2 separate regions of the Homo sapiens genome follow, and region 2 is linked to region 1. Evidence: promoter capture Hi-C in human tissues and cell types (Jung and others, 2019). All regions are on one chromosome and are shown on one strand. The core of a region is centred on a gene start or on the middle of the fragment in contact, and the rest is flanking DNA. Distances in the headings are between cores, read along the strand shown.

Region 1 (5,558 bases), core at 1,316-3,815:
TGCCACTGCACTCCAGCCTGGGGGACAGAGCAAGACTCTGTCTCAAAAAAAAAAAAAAAAAAGAAAAAAAAAGAAAATGGATGAGGGACCCACTGCTGAGAGTTTGGTGGGAAGGAGTCTCCCATCCTAGAGGCTGCCTGGCCTGGGTTTGGAGCCCTAGGGAACCCCCTCCCCTGCCCTCAGGCAGCTGTTCACAGCAAGTGGGGAGCCCAAGGCGTGCAGATAGTTGGTGCCAGCAGGAGTGACAGACTGCCCTGGGGACCTTAGGCCCAACCTCTGGGGGTCTAGGTTTGGAGATGTGGTAGGGCCCTGGGTGCCAGGTGGGCCAGTACCCACCCAGGCTGGCCTCCAGCCCCTACACTCTACCCCAGCCCTCTCCTTCACTGCTGGAGCTCATTAGCACTTGAATGGGGGGCGGGGCGGCTTGGGCCTCTGAGTCTCTTCTTCCCACCCCTCCCCCAGGCTTGTCGGGGCTTTGTCTGCAGGAGCAGGCAGGGATAGAGCTCCCACACTAAGGAGTGAACAGGGGTCCAAGCTATAGCTGACCCCCTCTGCCTGCATCCTGCCCAGTTCTGCTAGGCTCAGCCCCTGCCTCTCACGCCAGTGTCAGTGCAGCCAACATGAGGTCATACCTCTAGGGTAGGAGTGAGACTAGGTCCTTTAAGGGATACCTCTGAGCTGAGAGACTAGGTGAATCAGGGCAGCTGGAGCTCAGCTGGGGGCATCCCAGGCGGGTTGGGGAGAGGAACCCCAGACAGAGGGCAGAGCAGGTGTGAGGACAGAGAGAATGAGCCGCGCTGCTGTGGCAGGAGGTGGAAGTCAAACCAGTTGCGGGACACAGGCTTCCATGTCAGAAGCCCTGAGGCAGCATCACACCACCCACTATGTGTCAGAGCCTAGGCTGCTGGATGGGGCCTGGGGATGGTCCGGGACCCCTTTGGCCCTGGGCAGCTTGTCAGCGGTTGGCCCTGGGTGGCCTGAGAGGTAGGGTCACTGAGTGCCATCACTGATGTCCCAGGCCCTTGAACATCAGTTTGCCTGGCAAGTGGCAGCAGGTAGTGCTGAGGGTGGGGTGTGGTCAGGTCCCAGCAAGGTCCCTAGGCCTCCAGCACTGCAGGGGGTGGGGCAGTAGGTGCACTTGGGGCTACTTGGGCCACAGGCAGACACACAGGTCCTGTATACTCTGCCGTTGATCTTAGTTCTTGGTCCCTGGCTGTGACTCTCTCAGTCTGTCTCTAAAAGCCACCCATTCACTTGGCGGGAACAGGATGGAGGAAGCTTTGTCCACCCAAGCTCTTAGCCACTGAGGAACCAGGGACTCCCCCCACCCCACCCACAGCAGAGGAGGAGACTGTCACCCCAGAGCCTGAGTGCTGCCTCCCCTACATCCCGTTGTGCTGTGGGGGGAGGCAGGACCGGGCAGATGGGGGCAAGGTACAGGCCAGGGAGTAGTCTCATCTTCCCAGCATCTCAGGCCAGGAATCCCAGCCTAGGAGTTGAGCGAGGAGGGGAAGGGGTCAGCAGGTTCTGGCCAGGCCACTGCTGATACACCCTGCCTAAGAGTGCTCTGCAAGGTGCTTTGGGGAAGGCAAAGGATTGGGCCCTTTGATGGTGTCCCTGGTACCTGATGCTCTCAGGCAGCCCTTCCCTCAGCTACAGGTGCAGGGTGGAACCCCGTCTGCCCAGCCCCACCCAGCCCTTCTAGCTTGAAGCTCTCGTTCTTACTAAACCCCAACCCCACCCTCACCCTGATGTTACTTCTTGGGGCTGTGGCTGCTCTTGGTGGCTGGGGAGGAAGAATCTTTCTGGAATAACCAAACATTTGCTGGGCTGGTTCTTCTGTGCCGGCCTCTGTGCACATTTACAAGGCTTGAAAGGCAGCACCACACCAGTCTGAGCAAAGGCCTAAAGGTGGGGTCATCTCAGCCTTGTTGGGGAGAAGATATCCTTATGGCTTGGAGGAATCTGGGGGCTCCAAGGCTGCTGACAGCCTCAGGATATGCAAAGGAGGTGATGGCAGCACCTACTGTGTGTGCCCCCGGCGGGAGGAGGAGGTAATGAAGTCTGCACGACATGGCAGGGCAGGGCTGGGCCTCTCGGGGAAGTGGTGTCCACACCAGAGGAAAAGGAGGAAGCAGCTGGGGGAGGAGGAGCCCAAAAGAGGAAGAGGCCAGAGGGCTGCCTGGTGCTAGGGTGGGGGTGAGAGCCCAAGGGCCCCCCAGGGCTTTGCCAACTGGAAGGGTCTAGGAGGTGAACACCTGCCCAGGCTTATCTTTGCACTCCTGTGGGCCATTCTAGTGGCGGTCACTGAGTTGGAGCCAGTCCAGGTAGCTCTGTACCTTGTCCCACCCCAGCAACCATCGGGCCCAAGATCCCAGAGAAGGTGGTGCCTTCGAGAAGGATTCCAGGCCCCTTCTTTGGCCACAGGAAGTTGTGGCTGGGAGAAGGACGCTGGCGGGAGGGCTAGCAGGAAGGCAGAGGGCTGCTCTTAGATTCCCGAGCGGCCATTGCTCTCCAAAGCCGGAAGGCCAGCCACAGGCTGAGATGAATGCCTGGAAATGCAGCAACAGCCCCGAGATGAGCTCACTCTGGGTTTCCCCTGCTGGGGGGCGGACAAAGGATCCCTGGCCTCAGCCTAAGGATTCTCCCCTACCAGCACCCACTCACTGGGTCTAGGGCTGCATTCACTGGGCCTGTTTCCCCTCAGGTGATAACCACAGCTGTCTCTGATTGAGCCTTGACTGTTGTGTGGAGCTGAATTCTTCATTATCTTGTCATATTTAATCCTGTGAGGCTGGGACTGATATTACACCCATTTCACTGATGGACAAACTGAAGCTCAGGGACTTTATGCACTTAAACAGGGAACAGAGATGTCAGGACATGACCCATGTAGTGATTAAGCGCCTGCCTCCAACTGCCATGGCCCTTTGGGAGTCTGTGCTGGCTGGAAGTAACGGATCAGGCAGGACAGCAGGCAGACGGTGTGGGTGCGTGTGTGTTCTGCCTGTGCCTATGGGCCCTGGCTTTCGGGCCTCAATTCTTCTTTTAGGAGGCGGAAAGGGAGCTGTCTGTCCTGGAAGGTGGGACCCAAGACTCTGTGTATGAAGCTTTCTACAGCCATGTGGTCATGGGGGACCCCCTCCACTCCTTTTTTTTTTTTTTTTTTTTTGAGATGGAGTCTCACTCTGTCACCCAGGCTGGAGTGCAGTGGCATGATCTCGGCTCACTGCAACCTCCGCCTCCTGGGTTCAAGCGATTCTCCTGCCTCAGCCTCCTGAGTAGCTGTGACTACAGGTACGTGCCACCACGCCCAACTAATTTTTGTATTTTTAATAGAGACGGGGTTTCACCATGTTGGTCAGGCTGGTCTCGAACTCCTGACCTCAAGTGATTCGCCTGCCTCGGCCTCCCAGAGTGCTGGGATTACAGGTGTGAGCCACTGCGCCCGGCTGCAGCTGCACCTTTTGACTTCCCACTTTTTCTCCTAGTCCGTATCCTCTCACAGTGATGCTCAAGTTATAGCTGGCAATTTAGGACTTCATTCTTTCCCTAATATTATGCTTGTTCTCCCATAAGCCCCAGTCTTAGACTGAGACCAAGCCTGGGGAAGGCTCAGAAGCTATTGAAGTCCATGGTGAGGGCCTCTGAGACTGGGAATTGTCCAGAGGAGTGAAATGAAAGCATGTTCCTTAGGGCTGCACTGTGAGCACAGGCTCAGTGCTGGGTGCACGTACGGTACTGTGTGGTGGTAGAATGTGGCCATGGTGTTGGCTGATGACTGCATGATAGTTGTTGAGGCTGGTTCCTCTTGCTCCTTGGCCTCCGAATCTCAGTGCTGTGGCCTAGTGGGGCCTTGCCCTCTCTTGTAGGGGTTCCTAGGGGTTCTGCTGTGTTGCCAGGCCAGGCCGTAAGGGACTGAGGGGGCTGAGGAAGGCTTAGGAGAGCCAGAGCAGAAGCGTCCAAGCCTCTCTGGGCCATGAAGCCATGCACAGAGCAGAGACCCGTGCATCCTCATGGCCACCCAAGACTGTGGGTCCCAGAGGGTCCAGTTCCTCACCATGAGACCTCAGACTGTCCTCTTCCCTCTCTGTATCCAGCACTAGAATCTGTGATGCTGTGATTTTTTTTTTTTTTTTCTGAGACTGAGTTTCGCTCTTGTTGCCCAGGCTAGAGTGCAGTGATGCAATCTCGGCTCACCACAACCTCCGCCTCCCAGGTTTAAGTGATTCTCCTGCCTCAGCCTCCAGAGTAGCTGGGATTACAGGCATGTGCCACCATGCCCGGCTAATTTTGTATTTTTAGTAGAGACAGGGTTTCTCCATGTTGGTCAGGCTGGTCTCGAACTCCTGACCTCAGGTGATCCGCCCACCTCAGCCTCCCAAAGTGCTGGGAATACAGGCGTGAGCCACCCCGCCCCGCCAGTGCCGTGATTCTTAGCATGGTCTCCTGGCCTGTGGACACAAGGACAGCTGCTGGCTTGGGTTGGGCCCTGAGGCAGTTTGGGGTGACTTTGAAGAGGCTACTCAGGGCAGGCCTTGGGTTTGGCACCCTCCCTCAAGGGGTACATTTCATAGATGAGGCCTAGGCTCCCGTTATCTTTCCCAGAGTCCACCGCCATGAATCAGAAGGGAAAAGAGGTCATTCAGGTGCCTTGGGAACAGCGGAGGGATGCCTGAAATGAAGAGGCCTCCAGGGAGACGGTGCCAAATGGCCCAGCTCCGCGTGATCCGCGTCTTGTCCAGCACCTCCTGGCTCCTGCACAGGCGGTACCTGGGGCCTGAGGCGCCAGCGATGAACAGGTCTGGGGCCTCCTTTATATCAGGCCAGCCTTCCTCACCCGGTGCCTGAGTTTCCCTCTGTGCAGTGGAAAGGGCCCCACTGAGGGAGACACACCTTGCCCCAGAAAGACTTTCCCATGTGTGGGCAGGACCTGAGGCCTCAGTTTCCCTAACACAGAGATCTCTGACTTGGCAGTAGGAAGCCAGGCCCTGCTTGGTAGTGCTCCCCTTTGGGCACTGTGAACCCCTGGAAGCCGCTGGAGGCAGCCGAGTGCCAGAGACTGGCGGGAGGGAGGTGTGGAGTCTGTTGGTCTGTTCAGGCATCCGTTATAGGGCCATGCCACACACATGGGTGGGAGTGTTGCCGGTCCCTTTCAAGACCTCGAGTCCCTGCCTCCCAGTGCCGGACCCGTGCTGAGCCTTCTCGGAGGGAATGAGGGGGGCCGGGGAGCAGCACCTGGAGGAAGGAAGAGACGCCAGGGGCGGGGCTCAGAGGGCCTTTGTCTGGCGGGGTCTCTGCCCCTCCCTCCCGTTGCCATGGTTTCTGTGTGTGCCGAGTCTCTGCAGGCTGGGGGCTTCCCAGGGACGGGCTGGTGGGTGGGACACCTTCCCCAGTCGCCCCTGGCTGAGGCTGCTTTTCTGAAACAAAACGCTCCCCAGTGCTGCCCAGCCCCCACTTCCTTCCACAGTGTCTCCGGCTGCCGGGCGCCCCCTGGTGGTGGCGGGGCATGGGTCCCTAGGACTGCAGGGGACGTGGGGGTGCACGGGATCTGAGAA
Region 2 (4,665 bases), core at 2,166-4,665, 97 kb after region 1:
GGCCAGAGCCGCGCCGCAACCGTTAAGACTGAAACGTAGATCGCCGGGATCTAGCTCTTGTCTCATTGGGGCAGGAACGCCGGGGCGGGGACACGCACGCTTCGCCCCCAGGAATGACCTCATCGCTCCGGAGCTCCACTCACAGACCCCACCTACCACAGGGAACGGGGGCGGGTGCCAGCGTCCGGGCAAGCGCACAAGAGTGGCCTCTGGCCGGAGGCGAGGGCGGGAAGGTGCGGGAAGTGCGCGTGCGCGGAGCCTGGGTCAGCCTGGGCCCGGGTCCGCTTGCAGCGGGTGGAGTACTTGCGGAGCCGGCAATCCAGGCTCCCCTCCCAGCCCCCGCGCAGAATTAGCCTCTCTGTGCCGCCGGGAAATCGGCAATTAGAACGCTCCTTGCGCGCGGCACCCAGGCAGCCCTCGAGAATGCCTGCACTGTGGCCTGCCCATCCTCGCCCTTCCCATACGCCCTCGGCCCCGCGCTCACCACGTTCGTGTCCCGCTCCACCGCGGGTTCCCAGCCCAGGTCCCGGGGCCCGCAACAGTCCAGGCAGACGAGCGCGCGGCAGCGGTAGTGGCAGGTGAACTTGCAATCTGCAGAGAGGCCTGGCGGTGAGGCGGAGGAGCTCCAGGTCGGGGAAATGTCCCGGAGATTGAAGGGAAGCCCCAGGGAGAGGGCCGCTGCTCGCCAGGCTCCGCAGGCCCGACCTATCTCAGTGGGTTACCTCACACTGCTACGCGGACTCTAATGTTGGCCACCTGGGCGTCTGGAAACCGGCCGGAAGGCCACAGGCAGAGAGGCCTGCTCAACAGTTGGATCTCTATCGCCTAGCACAGAACTTCCCCTTTCCTCATTGGCAATTAAAAAAACAACAACAAAAAACTGCGTCTTGCTTTTGTCACCCAGGCTGGAGTGCAATGGCGCGATTTCGGCTCACCGCAACCTCCGCCTCCTGGGTTCAAGCGATTCTTCTGCCTCAGCCTCCTGAGTACCTAGGATTACAGGCGCCCGCCACCATGCCCAGCTAATTTTTGTATTTTTAGTAGAGACGGGGTTTCACCATGTTAGCCAGGCTGGTCTCAAACTCCTGATCTCAGGTGATCCACCCGCCTCGGCCTTCCAAAGTGCTGGGACTACAGGCTTGAGCCACCGCACCCGGCCCTTCACTGGGAACGTATATGGAATACATCTGCCCATTTACTTGAAGGAAAAACTAAACACCTTTAACCTACGTCTGCCCTGTGGTTGTCACCTGTCTCTACTCCCCTCAGACCAAGACACTGGTCTCTATACACTCTAATCCTTCGCCTTCACTCTCCCCTCTACCCACTCCAGCCAGGCTTGCCTCTTCCTCCAGGAAACTGCCCGGGACAGGGTCCTCAGCGATCTGTGTACTACCAAATGGAATCCAGTGTTCCATTCTCCATTCTCACCCCCTCAGCATCATTTGAAGCTTGCTCCCTTTGACTCCCAGGGGCTACACTCTCCCAGTTTTCCTCCTACCCCCTGCAGCTCCTGCTCAGCTCCTTTGCAGATTCTGACTCAACTTCCATATCTCACGATGAAGTCTGGGCTCAGTCCTGATCACTGGCCTGGTCTGTCTACATTCATCTGCCCCAGATCCACGGCTGAAACACTGACCTAAACCCTCAGACTAGATCCTCCGTGCCAGTACCTTCACTAGGATGTCTAAAAGACGTTTCAAGTGAACATGGCCAAAATTTAATTCCCTTTTCTTCAGCCTCACTGCTACACTTGCCCAGCTTCCTCTTTGCAGCAAAAATGGCCACTAGGCTCCCAGTTACTGGAGACAAAAGCCCAAACTTATCTTTGATTTCTCCCTTGTCTCTACCTCTGATAAACATGCCCAAATCATCCTGCTTCTTATCTCCATGGCTACTTTATTTCTCTTTGAGAACGCTGCAATGTCCCAGCCTTGTTCTTTTTTTTTTTTTTTTTTTTTTTGAGACAGAGTCTCACTCTGTCGCCAAGGCTGGAGGGCAGTGGCACGATCTCGGCTCACTGCAACCTCCGCCTCCTGTGTTCAAGCAATTCTCCCACCTCAGCCTCCCGAGTAGCTGGGATTACAGGCACCCGCCACTACGCCTGGCTCATTTTTTTTTATTTTTTAGTAGACATGAGGTTTCACCATGTTGGCCAGGCTGGTCTTGAACTCCTGACCTCAGGTGATCCACCCGCCTCCGCCTTCCGAAGTGCTGGGATTACAGGCATGAGCCACCGCGCTCGGCCCCTTGTTCATTCTTTGCATTCTGTCACAACTTTGTGCTCCCCCCAGCTGAATTTGTGATGTCCTCTTGTACCGGATGAGAGGGTCTCCATGCACACACAGACCTGGGACACTATCCATCCACAAGTTCCTAAATAGGCCAGAGCAGTGATGCTCAACCCAGACTCCATGTTACAATAATTTGGGGAGTTTTTAAAATTTACTGATGCCTAGGGTCCACTCCCAGCAGTTGATTCAACAGGTCTGCGGTGGGATCCAGGCTAGCGGGGAGGACTGTAAAAGCACCCCTGGTGATTCCAGCTGGTGTCTACCCAGGGGAGAGCAACCTTTGCTTGCTGGCGATTCCCAGGGGTGCAGAAGGACTGCTGGGTGTGTGGCTGCGTGCATATTTTAGCATCTGATTCACTGGGTCAGAAAAGGGTGTTTGCTAAATAAAGACTCAACAAAACTCCTGCTTGCAGGGGGCCCACCAAAGGTTCTAAATTTTTCCAGGCTCCCTCCCATAGGTGGTAATTTCCCTTCACCCTAAAGGTTCTGGAGGGGGTCATGAGTGTTTGAGAAGAGGCAAGCCTGGGAAGATGGACTCCGAGGACAGTAGGCACAAACCCTTTCTCAAGAAGGGCCAAGGCATTTTAAAGATAAGAAACTTAAAATCAGCGTATTTTTACATATAAGCAGCCACCTCTGCTCATCTGTGGCCCAGATACGAGTGGAGTGCGACAAGGGATAAACCATTTTCGCGCACTCTTCAGCGATGGGGCGAAAGTAACGGACCTAGTCCTCGGGAGCTGTCCCCGCCGACCCCCTCTGCCGCGACTTGACCCGCGGCGACTGCGCTGCCCCTTGGCTGCCCCTTCCGCTCTCGTAGGCGCGCGGGGCCACTACTCACGCGCGCACTGCAGGCCTTTGCGCACGACGCCCCAGATGAAGTCGCCACAGAGGTCGCACCACGTGTGCGTGGCGGGCCCCGCGGGCTGGAAGCGGTGGCCACGGCCAGGGACCAGCTGCCGTGTGGGGTTGCACGCGGTGCCCCGCGCGATGCGCAGCGCGTTGGCACGCTCCAGCCGGGTGCGGCCCTTCCCAGCGCGCCCAGCGGGTGCCAGCTCCCGCAGCTCAATGAGCTCAGGCTCCCCCGACATGGCCCGGTTGGGCCCGTGCTTCGCTGGCTTTGGGCGCTAGCAAGCGCGGGCCGGGCGGGGCCACAGGGCGGGCCCCGACTTCAGCGCCTCCCCCAGGATCCAGACTGGGCGGCGGGAAGGAGCTGAGGAGAGCCGCGCAATGGAAACCTGGGTGCAGGGACTGTGGGGCCCGAAGGCGGGGCTGGGCGCGCTCTCGCAGAGCCCCCCCCGCCTTGCCCTTCCTTCCCTCCTTCGTCCCCTCCTCACACCCCACCCCGGACGGCCACAACGACGGCGACCGCAAAGCACCACGCGGAGATACCCGTGTTTCTGGAGGCCAGCTTTACTGTGCTAGAGGAAGAGGGTCCCCACATCCGGCCCTGGCCCTCCTGGTCCGGTTTGCTGAAGCAACACACTTGGCCTACCCACTGGGTGGGGCAGGAAGTCTCGAGCCTTCACTTGGGGTGAGGAGGAGGGAGATCGGTCAGCAGCTTTACCGCCCGCTCTGCTCTCCACTGCGGAGACTGGGGCTCCGGCAGAGGCTGGACCGTGATCTTGAGGTTCAGGGGTGCATTCTGGGTGGATTCCCTTGGCATGGGTGGTCGGCCCTCAGCAACTGCAGCCCTCATTTGGCTCTGTCACCCTGGGCTGCCAGGACACAAGTCTTTCCATGCTTTTCCCAGTGCTTGACTTGGCACTCCCTGCAGGCAGGTGGGTATTGAGGATGGCAATGCATGTGGGGGATGTGGGAGTAGGGCTTAGAGGTCCAAGGTTCTAGGATACCCTCACCTGCAGCAATACCACTCATTCTGGCATCGTGAGCAGCGCTTAGAAGCCTCTGCACTGCAGTAAGCACAGCGGGGCCGCTCTGGAGCCACTGCCTCTAGCACATCCAGCCTGTAGGTCTCAGCCCACCTGGGGGAAAGTCAGGAAGGTCTGACTGGCCCTGGAAGGTGGGGGCACCCCACCCACATCCATGCCTCCTGCATCCCCTCCACCCTCCCTGCCATTTCCACAGGCCTTACCTTCGCGCCTGCAGCCGCAGGTCCTGCTCTGAGGGGCTGAACACATGCTGGAGCTGGTGCTTGGCAATTGCCTGCCACTTGCCTCTGTTTTCTCGCTCCAGCCGCTCCCAGATTTCTGGGATCTAGGAGAGAGAAGTGGAGAGTGGCAGGAAGGTGCTGGTAAAGTGGGACAGTGGTCCTGAGCAGCTAACTTTCCAGTGCCTACCTGTTCCAACACCAGGTCCTTCTTAGGAGGCTGGGTTTCAGTTAGGGTCAGATGGGCCAGGAAACTCTGCA

The links. Contacts are between HindIII fragments. The study calls those that stand out against the background at their distance.
Region 2: the fragment with the promoter of RASSF1 here is called in contact with a fragment that was not itself captured in region 1 in 2 of the 25 tissues and cell types used here (dorsolateral prefrontal cortex and spleen).

The regions. Positions count from the first base shown.
Region 1 is chr3:50,240,875-50,246,432 of GRCh38, forward strand. All of the region lies in intron 1 of GNAI2 (G protein subunit alpha i2), which reads left to right. Among named protein-coding and RNA genes, the nearest start is that of GNAI2, 7.4 kb to the left of the region's middle. RefSeq lists a silencer at 664-713 and enhancers at 944-1,003, 1,814-1,953, 1,925-2,535, 2,244-2,603, 2,536-3,145 and 3 more. The HindIII fragment of the contact is 4,121 bases long and covers 506-4,626 here.
Region 2 is chr3:50,337,421-50,342,085 of GRCh38, forward strand. RASSF1 (Ras association domain family member 1) reads right to left here and starts at 3,416. Exons shown (of 6, transcript NM_007182.5): 1 at 3,136-3,416; 2 at 485-591. The coding sequence starts at 3,385. It overlaps ZMYND10 (zinc finger MYND-type containing 10), which reads right to left. Exons shown (of 12, transcript NM_015896.4): 9 at 4,595-4,665; 10 at 4,390-4,511; 11 at 4,154-4,279; 12 at 3,692-4,065. The coding sequence ends at 3,990. RASSF1-AS1 (RASSF1 antisense RNA 1) reads left to right here and starts at 91. Exons shown (of 1, transcript NR_109831.1): 1 at 91-880. RefSeq lists silencers at 1-54, 3,156-3,675 and enhancers at 126-697, 525-784, 865-954, 2,521-3,344, 3,345-4,167. The HindIII fragment of the contact is 7,648 bases long and covers 1-4,665 here.